Linked DNA regions of Homo sapiens: region 1 is linked to region 2. Evidence: promoter capture Hi-C in 16 types of primary human blood cells and fetal thymus (Javierre and others, 2016). All regions are on one chromosome and are shown on one strand. The core of a region is centred on a gene start or on the middle of the fragment in contact, and the rest is flanking DNA. Distances in the headings are between cores, read along the strand shown.

Evidence for each region. The method cuts DNA at HindIII sites, captures the fragments that hold promoters and counts their contacts. A CHiCAGO score of 5 or more calls a contact.
Region 1: the fragment with the promoter of GALC here is called in contact with the fragment with the promoter of MBIP in region 2 in 3 of 17 cell types (total CD4 T cells, activated CD4 T cells and fetal thymus); the score reaches 8.0 in total CD4 T cells.

What each region holds. Positions count from the first base shown.
Region 1 is chr14:87,991,732-87,998,163 of GRCh38, reverse strand. It overlaps GALC (galactosylceramidase), which reads left to right and starts at 4,982. Exons shown (of 17, transcript NM_000153.4): 1 at 4,982-5,194. The coding sequence starts at 5,000. It also overlaps the pseudogene RNU6-835P. RefSeq lists enhancers at 4,645-4,974, 4,669-5,169 and a silencer at 5,125-5,314. The HindIII fragment of the contact is 1,583 bases long and covers 4,419-6,001 here.
Region 2 is chr14:36,319,382-36,326,043 of GRCh38, reverse strand. MBIP (MAP3K12 binding inhibitory protein 1) reads left to right here and starts at 5,407. Exons shown (of 9, transcript NM_016586.3): 1 at 5,407-5,584. The coding sequence starts at 5,456. RefSeq lists enhancers at 5,009-5,058, 5,459-5,718. The HindIII fragment of the contact is 840 bases long and covers 5,042-5,881 here.

The DNA.
Region 1 (6,432 bases), core at 3,733-6,232, about 52 Mb before region 2:
GGAGACCTGGGGCTCCAGAGCCAGTATTCTAACTACTATACTACACTGCTCTTTGCTATAGAAGTTTTTATTTGTAGTTATACTTAAGAAAATGTTCAGTAAGCAATTTATAATTTATTTCATTAGGTGGATTCTGTCCTTTGACTTATTTTCATTTTGTTTATATAAAATCTTGAATGAATAGAGCCTTATAACATATTTTAGAGAGAAGTCACTCAGTAGGGCAGTATAACTAACAGTTGCCATCAAGAAACACGTCCAGAGTTGAAAGACCAGACAAATGGCAGATGTTGGATATATACTGAAAGGAATATAAGTCATTCTCCCATAAAGACACATGCAAGTGGATGGTCATTTCAGCACTATTTGCAATAGCAAAGCCATGGAATCAACCTAAATCTCCATCAGTGGTCTATTAATGGATAAAGAAAATGTGTTACATATACAACCTGGAATACCATGCAGCTATAAAAAAGAATGACAGGCCAGGTGCTGTGGCTCAGGCCTGTAATCCCAGCACTTTGGAAAGCCGAGGCGGGCAGATCACGAGGTCAGGAGTTCGAGACCAGCCTGACCAACATGGTGAAACCCCGTCTCTATTAAAAATACAAAAATTAGCCAGGTGTGGTGGCACACCCTGTAATCCCAGCTACTCAGGAGGCTGAGTCAGGAGAATCGCTTGAACCTGGGAGGCAGAGATTGCAGTGAGCCGAGATCGCACCACTGCACTCTAGCCTGGATGACAGAGCAAGACTCTGTCTCAAAAAAAAAAAAAAAAAAAAAAAAAAGAATGAGATCATGTTCTTTGTAGCAACATGAATGGAGCTGGAGGCCATTACCCTAAGAAGACTAACACAGGAATAGAAAACCAAATACTGCATATTCTCACTTATAAGACGGAGCTGAACATCGAGTACATATGGACACAAACAACAACAAAACAACAGGCACTGGGGCCGACTTAAGGGTGGAGGATGGGGGATGGGGAAGGATCAAAAAACTACCTATTGAGTACTATGCTTATTACCTGGGTAATGAAATAATCTGTACATCAACCCTAGGACATGCAATTTACCTTTGTAACAAACCTGCACATGCACCCTGAACCTAAAATAAAAGGTAAAAAATATAGCAGATGTTACAGGACAGTTCAAGAAAACACTCCACACTCTTATGTCCCAGGGGATTCCTACTTTAAGAAACGTTTCCAACTCCTTTTGTAAATAATTCTTTATTCGTATCCCCTTATGTGACCATTCAGTGATTTGTCTTTTAGTTCAATTCAACTAATATTTATTGAGTACTTAGCACAGTTTGGGCACTGTGCTTAAGACATACAAAGAAGAAATAAACTTGGCCTCTGCCCTGGAATTTCTGACAGCCTAATAGCAAAAACATGGAATCAACCTAAATGCCCATCAATGGTAGACTGAAGGGGAGGTGGACTGATTTATAAAAGTAAAGCCTTTTCCTGAAGTGAGACAACAGACTGCTATCATACCGTTTTATGATAGTCTTGGGGAAATAAAAAAAAAAATCCAGACTGCTATTAGAGTTTATCAATAAATTTTCATTAAAAGGCAAGATCTCTGATCCTTCTCAAGAGACTATTTGATTTTGATCACATTATTTTATTTAGAAAAAGGAGAGATTTGGGGTGGCTGAAGTATAGTTGTGATACTTAGAAACACCTGTTATTTAAGAGAAAAATCATCGTGTTTCCTTTGGCAGCACATTTACAAACACTGGAATGTTACAGAGATCAGTGTGGCCTCTGAGCAAGGATGACATGCAAATTCTTGAAGTGTTTCAGATTAAAAAGACAGAGAGAGAAACACTGTCATTACTTTTTAAACTCATTTAAAATCTGAAAACTGGGACCTTCCTTTCTTACCGTCTTATCTCACTGACCCTGATCCACAGACGCAAGGGAAGCTAAGCATATGATCACTCGTGGGGTAACTGTCATTTTTCTTTATCTCACATCTTGAGCACATTTGAGTGCCGTGCCCAGCACTCCAAGGATTTCTGTCAGCATGTATTTATTGGCCTTTTATTAGAAACTTTCTTACCTCATGTCTGCTCTCATGAATATAGATCAGAAATTAGAAACAAAAAATATTTATCTGGTAAGCAATTTCTTTGGTAACTGAACTAATAGGAACTACTGGGACTTCCTGGAAGTGAGGCTACCTTTTCCATTAGAGTTTATGCTTCCTCTTTTGTAGACTTCACACATTGCTCAAATATTTGTGGCGTGCATTCCAACTACAAGGTGCAATTGAGGGACGAGAAAAGGGAAAACTTAGTTGGGCAGACAGCTAAAGTTGGTCTTTGGTAAAATTCTTTTAAACAGAAAGACAGCCTGAAAAATCAAGCTACAGGCACACATAGAGTGGCCTGGGGAAAACTCAGGCAACAGCTGCCCTGATAAGAAAGGAAGGCCCAACATAGAAGCCTTTTGTTCTTTGTGTGATTAGCAGGTTCCCAGGAAAAAGTTTCTTCCCCTTTTCAGGCACATACATGGTGGGCTCTGTGGGAACTTGCATGGGGGTGGAGAGGGTGATTACCTAGAACCCACAGTTACACAAACAAGAGAAGCTGAACTTTATCCTTACCCAAGACATACCCACAGCTGCACAGATAAGGGGAGCTGCACAGATAGCTTTACAAGTAAGTTACACAAACAGCTACAGAGATGAGAGGAGTTTCTTATAAAAGCTTTTGGATTCAACTGTAAAAGTGGCAAAATGGCAAAGAAAGAAAGCTTTCTTCTTTCATATAATAAACTTTCTCTTCAACCTCACTCTGGTGTCCACACTCCTTAATTCTCTTGGTTGTGAGACAACAAGCTTGGATAACACCTCAGACAACGAGACCACTGACCACTGACCCGTTTCACAATGACGTACTACAGGATGGTGTATGCTGGGTATTCATACATCGTCATGCAACTTCCTAGTTTTATGTGTAAGGTAGTTTCCTCTGTCATCACCTTGGTATTTCCCATCTAGTCACGGTATTAAGTGGGTCTTATGCGCTTGTTAAGAGCTGGTAAGAGAAGCTTAACATTCACTTGATGGAATGGTTACTGTGGCTTGTATCCACAGGAGCTCCAGCTCATGCTTAAAATACTGTGTTAGAACAAATGGATCAGAGTGAATTCTGTAACAGTAAATCCACAGAACTGAAAATTACTGACTTGCATCATAAACTGGTTGCAGTGGCAAGGCAGAGAGTTCAGATTCGTGTTGTACTGGGGAAAGAAGAAACCAAAGAAAATAAGTGGTTCATACACAGGGGACTATTTAACTGATCCAAGCCAGAAGACTACTGAGGGTGAAAGGAGCATTATCAGTAATTATGTTTAGACAAAAGTTGTGACTGTCCTTAGTAAACCAGGATAGACGTAGAGTCAATTCAAAAAGAAAGAAAGAACAAACATATCTAATGTACATTAAGAACCCAGGGATATCGGGTTCTTAATGTGCATATTTATTGGATTGCCCAGAGCTTTGACCTTCAAGTATAATTGAGTTCTTGAAACTTAGATTTAGGTTTGTGGTTAAGGGGCAAAATAATCAGATTCCAAATAGGGTTCTGCAGACAAATCCCACAGGTCCTAAAGTCTCTGGGTCTTTTCCTTGCCATTGTGGTATCTCAGGGGCTTGTGTAGGCAATGATAACCAGTTCCATACTTCTGCTAAGAGAAATTTGGGGATCAGAAAATCTTTCTCTGCAGCTCTTCAGAGTCTCTTTAATTTACTTCAATAACAAGGAAATCAGAAATCTCAGGACAGTGCTGGATGTGGCAGAAATTCAGGGCAATTCACAACTTTCCTACCAATTTAGAGTTACCTGTCTGGAATCACTTCAACTGACAGTGGAAGATAGTTTATAAAATTGTAGGGGAGGCAAAATTTCACCTTCGTCCCTGTAGGGTCCCAGCATGGCCCTAGTATTAAATTGATTTAAGATATTAATAGACTGACAGGAGACAACCACACAAATGTTTATTTTACATAGCACGGGGGCCCTCATTAAAAAAAAAAAAGACCTAAAGCAGCAGTTAAGAGCCAATTGCTTATAGAGTGAAATGGACAAAAAATAGTAGTTGTGAAACATGATAAGGCGAAGGGGCTTGGGGTAAAGAAGCGACTAGAAAGATAGGGATTAACAAATTTTGTTTGGACAGATTTCCCTCGACTTCAACTTTCTGTCCTTGAAGATAACAATGTTATTTTATAGGGAAGACATCTTTCACATGGGAATTTCATCTCCTCCTTTTAAGACACATAATATCCATGACAGTGATCTTGCACCTGCTGTTTTTAAGTGCCTTTAATTTAAAATAGTCAATATGCCACAGCAGCATATTTTGAGGTGGTATATTATTAACTCCTTCAAGGCTAAAAGCTTTGAATATGCCGGGGTAGTTACCAGACTGGAGAACCTTCTCAGCTATTTGCCACTTGTGGAATGCATTCAAATGTACTGAGTGCTTATTAACTTTTCTCTCAGTCCCTCACTCTGCTGCTCTTCTCGCCTCATCTCACATAAGGGAAAACTCAGGCTCCAAAAGCAAAGTGATTCCACCAAGATGACAATGGAATCGGGACCTGGTGTCCAAGCCTGGTCCTCGCACGAGGTAGATACTCCCTGAGATGCTGGGGAAGAGCCATGGTAGGGCCACTCATGGCCCTCTTCCTTTGGCGGACCTTGGAATCCACCTTCCCTGCGTTAAAGTGCTCCACCAGGTGACGCCGGAAGAGAAGCCAGCAGTAAGTACATGTGAAATCCAGTAGCTGACCACAGACACGCGAGCGATAAGAAAAAGCTCGCTGCTTCTTTTCTCAACACTCCGCCAGCTGCGTCAGAGGCCCTTGACCCGCACTCAAAATGGCGGCGGCGGCGTCAGCATCAGCGGCCTCCTGCCCGTATCTATCGTGGCGGCGACGGGACCCGCCTCCCTGGGCGCCGGAGTCATGTGACCCACACAATGGCTGAGTGGCTACTCTCGGCTTCCTGGCAACGCCGAGCGAAAGCTATGACTGCGGCCGCGGGTTCGGCGGGCCGCGCCGCGGTGCCCTTGCTGCTGTGTGCGCTGCTGGCGCCCGGCGGCGCGTACGTGCTCGACGACTCCGACGGGCTGGGCCGGGAGTTCGACGGCATCGGCGCGGTCAGCGGCGGCGGGGTGAGCGGCAAGCTGCGGGGATACGCGGGGGGCGGCAAGAGCCCGCCCCGTGGGGCCAGCCCCACAAGCCCCCGCGGCGTTGCCCTGCGTTTCCACCGGCTCCACTCTCCGCCGCATTCCCCTAGGGTGCCAGTCAGCAGGCGGTTGGGGCGGGCCCGCTGCGGGGCTGGGGCGGGTGCTTTCTCGTTTAACACGAACCAGACAGGCAGTTAGGTTTGAACAAATGAGGATCCGGAGGTCCAGAGAGTATAGGTGCAGAGAGTAAAGTGACAGGTCTAAGTAGTGAAGTAGCCGGGGCTGGAACCCTCGTCCCAGGCAGTGGGGCACAGGCTGTCTTCATCGCGGAGATGGCAGTCGGGGAGCGTCGCTCCAGAAAGGGCCAGGGAGTGCGGGAGCGTCCGTGTGCGAAAGAGAACGCCCCAGTGGGATGCTTTGGCTGTGTCTCTCCCTTTTGGAGGAGTTGGTGGGTGGTGGAGTCGTTAAGTCCCGTGCAGTTGTTAGTGCAGGGTAAGAATGGGCTCCTCCAGAGAGGGTAGCGCCGAATAGGATTTCGTTTGGAGGCAGGACTGGTGCCTCAAGGTCTCTTTAAAAGGAAGATAAGCGAGCGGCCTGAAACTACCGGGTACTCCCTCTGGGCCCATGGGCTTCATGGTGGCCGACCTTTGGGTGAGAAGGTTTTTGTTTTTTGGTTTTGTATCCGAAATTACATCTAGGGCTAATGTTTCTTGAAAATGTTAAGGTTGAACTCGGATTTTTGGGGTTGAGTTGGATGGAGCTTGCATCCTTACATTCAACTCAGAACAAGCTTGAATGCCTGCTGCAAGGATGACCTGGTCTGTAGTGTGACCACAAGATATAACCTTCTGCTAGGGGAAATTTTTTTCCCCCTGGAGTTAGCTGATCCTTTTTGATTTTTATGTTTTCATTCCCTAATTTGCAATCTCTCCAGCCGTGCTGATGTGTATTTCAGGGGAAACCTGTGGGCCGATGAGTTAATGCATTTATTCTTTGCTACTACTATTCTCCTTTTTATGTTTTTGGGCTAAACCTGAAACAGCCAATATTTCATGGAGTGAGGCCCCATCTTTTTTATAGCTTTACTTGTGATACTATATCTAGGGTAAGAGCTTACCGAAAAATGGAAGTCTTTGTTTCCATTAGGTTTATTAAGCCCAGTTTAAAATTACTAAGATGAGAAGAATCATTTCGTAATTCAAAGTAGGAAACTCCTACCTAAT
Region 2 (6,662 bases), core at 4,158-6,657:
AATCTTAATTTTAATGCAATGTGCAATCTCCGTTTAGATCATTTACATTTAATATAACTACTGATATGGCTGGATTAAAATCTACTTCTTTTTCTATTTGTCCCATCTCTTCTTCTGTTTCTCTTTTCATGACTTTTTCAATAAACTATTTTTTACGATTCTCCATTATTAATTTATAATTTATACCTCTTAAAATATTTTTAGTTATTCTAGGTCTTACAACATATATCTTTATTAGACTACCTTCAATTAATATTATATTGCTATATTGTAGAAAACTTACAACTGTGTACTTACAATTCCTCCCTCCCAATTTGTGTGCTATGGTGTCATACATTTCTTTATATATTCTATAAATCCACAATAATTTGCCACTATATTTGCTTTAGACAGTGAATTATCTTGATGGCAAATAAAAATAAAAATAAATATCTCATGTGTCACTTTATCATAACCATTTCTTAAGATTTTTGTTTCATCATATAGATACAGGTTTCTTCCTCGTATCACACCCCTTTTGCCTGAAGAACTTCCTTTAACATTTCTTATAGGGCAGTTCTACTGGCAATAAATTATATTAGTTTTGTTTTCTTTTAAAAATCTTTATTTCTCTTTCATTTCTGAAATGGAGATGTGAAGTCTAACTTCCCTTCCCTTGAGTGTCAGCCAGACACAACTACTTGCTTCCAACAAATAAATTCCAACAATGTGTAACTTGAGAGACTAGGTCCTAAAAGGTGTGGCTTACGTCTTGCTGGGTTTTTTTTCAGAGTGGGTGATAGAACACCAAGCAAAGCCACTCCTGAATTTCTGACCCACAGAAACTATGAGATAAGAAATGTTGTTTTAAGCCACTAAATTTTGAGGTGATTTGTTGGACAGTAGTATGTAACTAATATTGAGGTTCTCCAAACTTCTTGGATCTGTGGTTTGATGTCCTTCACTATTTTTGGAAACTAGCGTCATCATCTCTTGAAATATCTCTTTGCCCTATTCTCTCTCTAGTCTCCTTTTACGATTTCAATTACAGGTACCTCAGACTGAATAATGTCCTTCAGTGCTTAGATGCTCATTTGCAGTGTTCAATATTTCCCAAATCATCTCTTATGGTGCCCAACCATCTGTAGCAGAGCAACACCCTCTTCTCTGAGGGACTCCACAGGGCTGTTCTTCTAAATTCCACAATTTTAATAATTCCTCTTTCTTTTGTTTCCCCCAGCCCTAGAGATTAGCTGCTTCCTGAATGTACTACCTCTGTGATACTTTGTTTTATTACCTTTTCAGTTAATTAACCACTTACCATAATTAACAATGTTTATAGTAAACTTTCTCTGTTCAGATAACATGTATGGCTTCTGTTTCCTGATTAAACCTCAACTGATACAGAAATTGGTATGAGATTTATTTATACCAGTAAGTAAATCTTCAAAAATGGGAGTTTGAGATTGGTTTAGTTATGTCCTTGGGCTTGACTGCACTGCTAAACTCCTTGCTAATAGGAAGTAATGTTGTGAGCCATTGCATGAAATGGCAATACAATTTGCCAATTATTATCCCAATTTACTTGATCATGAACTGTTTTGCTAAAATTAGCACATTATAGACTAGCATTCCATAAAATACACTTTAGGAAATGCTTGCTTAGCCATACTTCTCTATTTAATGTATCCTCCCTAAACATATTAAGCATGTTCAAGTTGCTGTTCATGTTTTCTATAAATTCCTTGAGAATTCTTATTTATCAATTCATATTTTGATATCAAATTCATATTTTTATCAATATCAATTCAGATTTTACTTTAAGTGTTTATAGCTTTTCCTGATTCTGGACCCAACCCCCTCCCCAAAGGAACTAATTGGCTGCATTACTTTATACATACCTCTAATATGGCCATTGTCACATTATATGAAGTTGTTTGTTTATATATCTACCTATCCCACTAGAACGGGAGCTCTTTGAGGAACAGTCCTTGTCTGATTCATCTTTGTAGCTCAATGTCAATTAGAGTGCCTGGTATATAGTAGGTACAATTAATTTGTATGTGTAAAATTATTGAGAATGGTTATGAAGGCTAGCTATATTTACTCCCTTAAGAAAACTTAGAACACTTTGAATTTGCTGCCACAAAAGAGAATAAACAGACTTGTTTCGTTATTTAAAATAAATTGTTTATAGCAGTCTATATGTTACAATTTTCCTTCAACAATAGGCACTTGTTTACTTTTTTCCATTTTATAAATCTGTTCACTTATGAAGGCAAATAAATTCAGCTCAACAGGCATATACTGAGCAATTAACTCTGTGCCAGAAACTATGCTAAGCCTTATGTACACCAACATATAAATGCTTATAGTTCAATAAGGAGACAGATATAGTCAAATAAATTCAAGTATCACTGTGATAACTACAATAATAGAAGTATATACAAGTTGTAGGAGTAGTTTAGCAGAGGAGAAAATAAGCTCTTTATGAGGGGGGATTCCCCAAAGATTTTCTAACTGGAGTTTGAAAATGGAAAAGGAGTTTCTCAAGCAGACAACAGGCACTGGGTAAAAATCAAAGCATGGAGGCAAGAAATAGTAAAGTGTTGAAGACATAAAAGCAGTTTCAGAAGCACTAAGCACCAGATGGTTTGTGGCAGAAAATGAGGCTGGAAATTTAGGCAAAGGCCACATCATAAGAGCCTTCATGTCATTCTAAAGAACTTGGACTTATGCAGCAGGTGATGGGGAGACAGGGACGACAAATACCATTTATTTTACTTTTTCTGCATTGAAATAAAATCTGTATTATCATATATGCAACAAACATCAGTTGAGCCCTTCTAATACCTCAGGTATTTTGCTGGGAACTGGGTTATTCAATAGAGTTATGCCATTAAAGCTCACCATAAAAGACATTTTTGTTGATAAGGTAAATAGCCTAGATTTCATTTATAGTCTCTATCCTCCCAATTGATTCTTGGCATAAGCCTGCTGGACAGTATTTCTAACTCTGTTGCTAACGCGAACACCAACACTTTGAATCATTTCTGCCAGGCAGCAGATTTTTCAGCAACCCACTTTATAAACTGTAATTAGTTTTCCATAAAGAGCAAATTATTCCCTTTATTCCCTTTCTAAATTTCATAGCGCATATTATACTTTTGTTATACATACATACACACATACAATATCTACAAATTTCTATTTTGAGTTGGCCCAAAGGAATCCAAATCTTTTCAGGCTACAAACTCTTCTATTTAAAATAGAATTTTCTATTATAAAATAAGAAAATGAGAAAAATTTCCAAAATGAAGGTAATAGGCATCAAGAAGAGTAAGAAAGGTCCTTAGAAAGAAGAAAGAATGCACAAAAGAGTTAACAAATTTTAAGTACTACTGGTTGAGTATCCCTTATCTGAACTACTTGGGACCAGAAGTGTCTCAGATTTCGGATTTTTTTTAGATTTTGGAATATTTGCATATATATAATAAGCTATCTTGGGGATGGGACCCAAATCTAAACACAAAATTCATTTATGTTTCATGTATACTTTATACACATAACTTGAAGGTAATTTTATATAATGTTTTAAATAATTCTGTGCATGAAACAAAGTTTTGACTACATTTTAACTGTGACCTGTTATGTCGGATCAGGTGTGAAATTTTCCACTTGTGGTACTGGCACTCAAAAAGTTTCAAATTTTGGATCATTTTGGATTTTGAATTTTCAGATTAGGAATGCTCAACCTGTACCTAAGTAAAGAATACTAAGATACAAGTGCAGGTCTGGATATCAAATCACAGAATTACATGGAGAAGCAATACACAGATCAAATGGCCATCAGTTAATTCTGTATTAGAGGCTCAAAAGAACAAGTAAAACTTGAAAATTCAAAATCAATGATGGCAAAGAAAGGAATAGCAGCACCTTGTTAAAGACAACATTTTTTAAATATACAAAGCATATTCCCAAATGTGTTGCATATCAGTGTTCTCCATATTTGAAAAAATATGAAACACCTCAATGAAAACAAATGATCTGAAACTGATTGCTAATTTGGTACAAAACAAAAACTTACAGTTACCCCATTACCATGCTTGAATAAGAAGGTTGCTCAATTTGAGACTGGACATTGTGAAGTATTTTTCTGCCTGTAGAAATAGGCTGGAATGTCAGTTGTATATCTTGCTGCCAACAAGGGAACAGAAAAGATTTCCCAAGATTCTGTCAAGCCTGGTGATCCCATTTGTCTTTGGAAATGAAAGCCTAATTAAGAGACTCCCTAGGGACAGGTCAAAGGAGTTTTTATCCCCATCGTCCTTATCTTAGTTCCTTGATGCATTAGTCCTTCCCTTTAATTTAGTCTACCCTAAAACTAAAGAATACACATTGTGCAAGTTTCCACCTTTGCTTTCTCTACTGTAAATGCATTAGACTATTAACAGAATTACGAGTTTTAAATCCCACCTTCCTTATCTCTAAGCTGATGTTGATTTCTTAAAGTGTTTTTGAATAAAGCTTAACACTAAAAATTATTGTAATACTTTAATTGGATAACACTTTTTAAAAATATCGGAGTCTGACTAAAAGATTACAAAACCCCACAAACATCGTTATAATAAAGCTATTATGATAAATAATACTTTGTAAAATTTGAATTCGGTTTTATGTCCTAATTTCAAAGATTGTGGTTGCATGATATTATTTATCCAGGTTAAATTCCTGTTGGAATTATATTGACAGTGTTTCATTTCTTTGAAACAATTTTAGGGTTAAGCGTCTCTACAGTTAAAACAGAGAATATCAACTGTAGTCCCAGTTACTCAGGAGGCTGAGGCAGGAGAACCGCTTGAACCTGGGAGGCGGAGGTTGCAGTGAGCCGAGGTAGTGCCACTGCACTCCAGTCTGGGCGACAGAGTGAGACTCTGTCTCCAAAACAACAACAACAAACTTGAAGAGATGAAAATGTTCTATCCAATCATGATAATTCCGTGTGAGTTTTCCAATGTTTAGAAACACGTGTGGGCACCACTCCATCCCTGACCAGCAAGCTTCCTCCAGACCCACTCCACACCGCCATGTTAAAATGTCAACTTTTACTTTTTGGACTCAAACTACAAAATTTAACTATGTCTCCTCTTACCAAGATTCACAATGAACACCTAGGAGTCAAGGTAGGCTTCATAACGCTAAAGAGACCACGACTCTAATGACCACCCCAAACACAGCATTCCAGCCTAGCTGTGGTCTGCAATTACCCACTTCAGAGCCTCGGCGCAATGTCACAGCTGCAACTGATTGGTGTAACGTGCTTGTCATTCACATAGAGAGGGTGGGGCCTCAAAGCCCGATCTAAACCAGACTCCGTGTCTTACGTCATCGCCAAGCGACTAAAGCTGGAAGGGAGGGGGCGGGGTTGTGAGCAAATCTTGGTGGTGGTGGTGGTGGGGCGGCCTGAGAAGATATCATGGCTGCTGCCACGGAGCTTAATCGCCCGAGCAGCGGTGACAGGAACCTGGAGCGAAGATGCAGACCCAACCTCTCCCGAGAGGTGCTCTACGAAATCTTTCGCTCCCTACACACCCTGGTTGGACAGGTGAGAGGTGGCCTGAGGGACTGGGAATATGGAAACCATCCGGTCCCTCCTCGCCATTCTTTTTCTCTAGCAGAGGCCGGGGGCAGCTAGGCCTGCAGAGGTGTGGGATGCGGTCCCGAAGCCGAGGTGTGGAAGGAGCCCGGGCCCAGCCTCCTCGGTCGGAGTGAGGAGGACGGCGGTACCGGTTGCAGAGTCGTTTACCTTGCAGCTGTCCTCCCCAAGAGTGGGTGAGGTTGGCCTAAGTGAAAACCCGGCTCCGAGAGAGGCAGGCTTGGAGAGAATGAATGTGGAAAAGCTTCACTGCGAGTTTAGGAGGCGCTTAGCGTTCAGGGTCCTTTTTCCTCCAACTTACTCTTTATGGGAATTGGTTGGTCAGTAGGCCTGAGATTTATAGAAAAGCGCGCGCTTATTAGCTTTTTTTGGTGGGGGAGGGAGTAATTTGTTCTTATGAGTTACTTGGTTTTGTTTATTTCTTTTTTCCTTCGGGCTGTTTTGCGCATCTATAATCCTTTCAAATGGGGAGAAAAGTAAAAGGAATTCATTTAAAATACTTCTAGCGTAAAATGCTGTTGGCGTTAGAACTGTCGTTATTTAACTATTAACTAGTTTAACTGGCTGATAAATCGCTTTTGCAGAAATGTCATAGTAAAATTGGTTTTAAATTGAAATGGGCTTCTTCGATCAAGTCACTGTTTCGTTTCATGGTGTAAAATTCAAGTTTTAAATGAGAAACAATTTAAAAGTATGCTTGTTTACCTGCCTTTTAAAAGGAAATATTTTCTATCTTACATAGACCATTTTCTAGCCGTAAAAGTTTGTTTTGGGGCTGGTACTAGCGCAAGTGGACAAAGCAGGCATTTGTGTCAAAGATAATGGTAAATTCCTATGAAAATAGAACATTTGTCTGATTTGTGAAAATTATTTTTAAAGCCTTGAGTAGATGGAGAATCAGTCTTTTAAGAAGTTACTATTTTTAAAAATCGTAGTATGTTGTGTCTTACAAAGAACATTACTGTAAGTTAAACGGTTTTATGAAATGACGCAGTTATTAATGGAGTCTGCTTAAAGATATAACTTT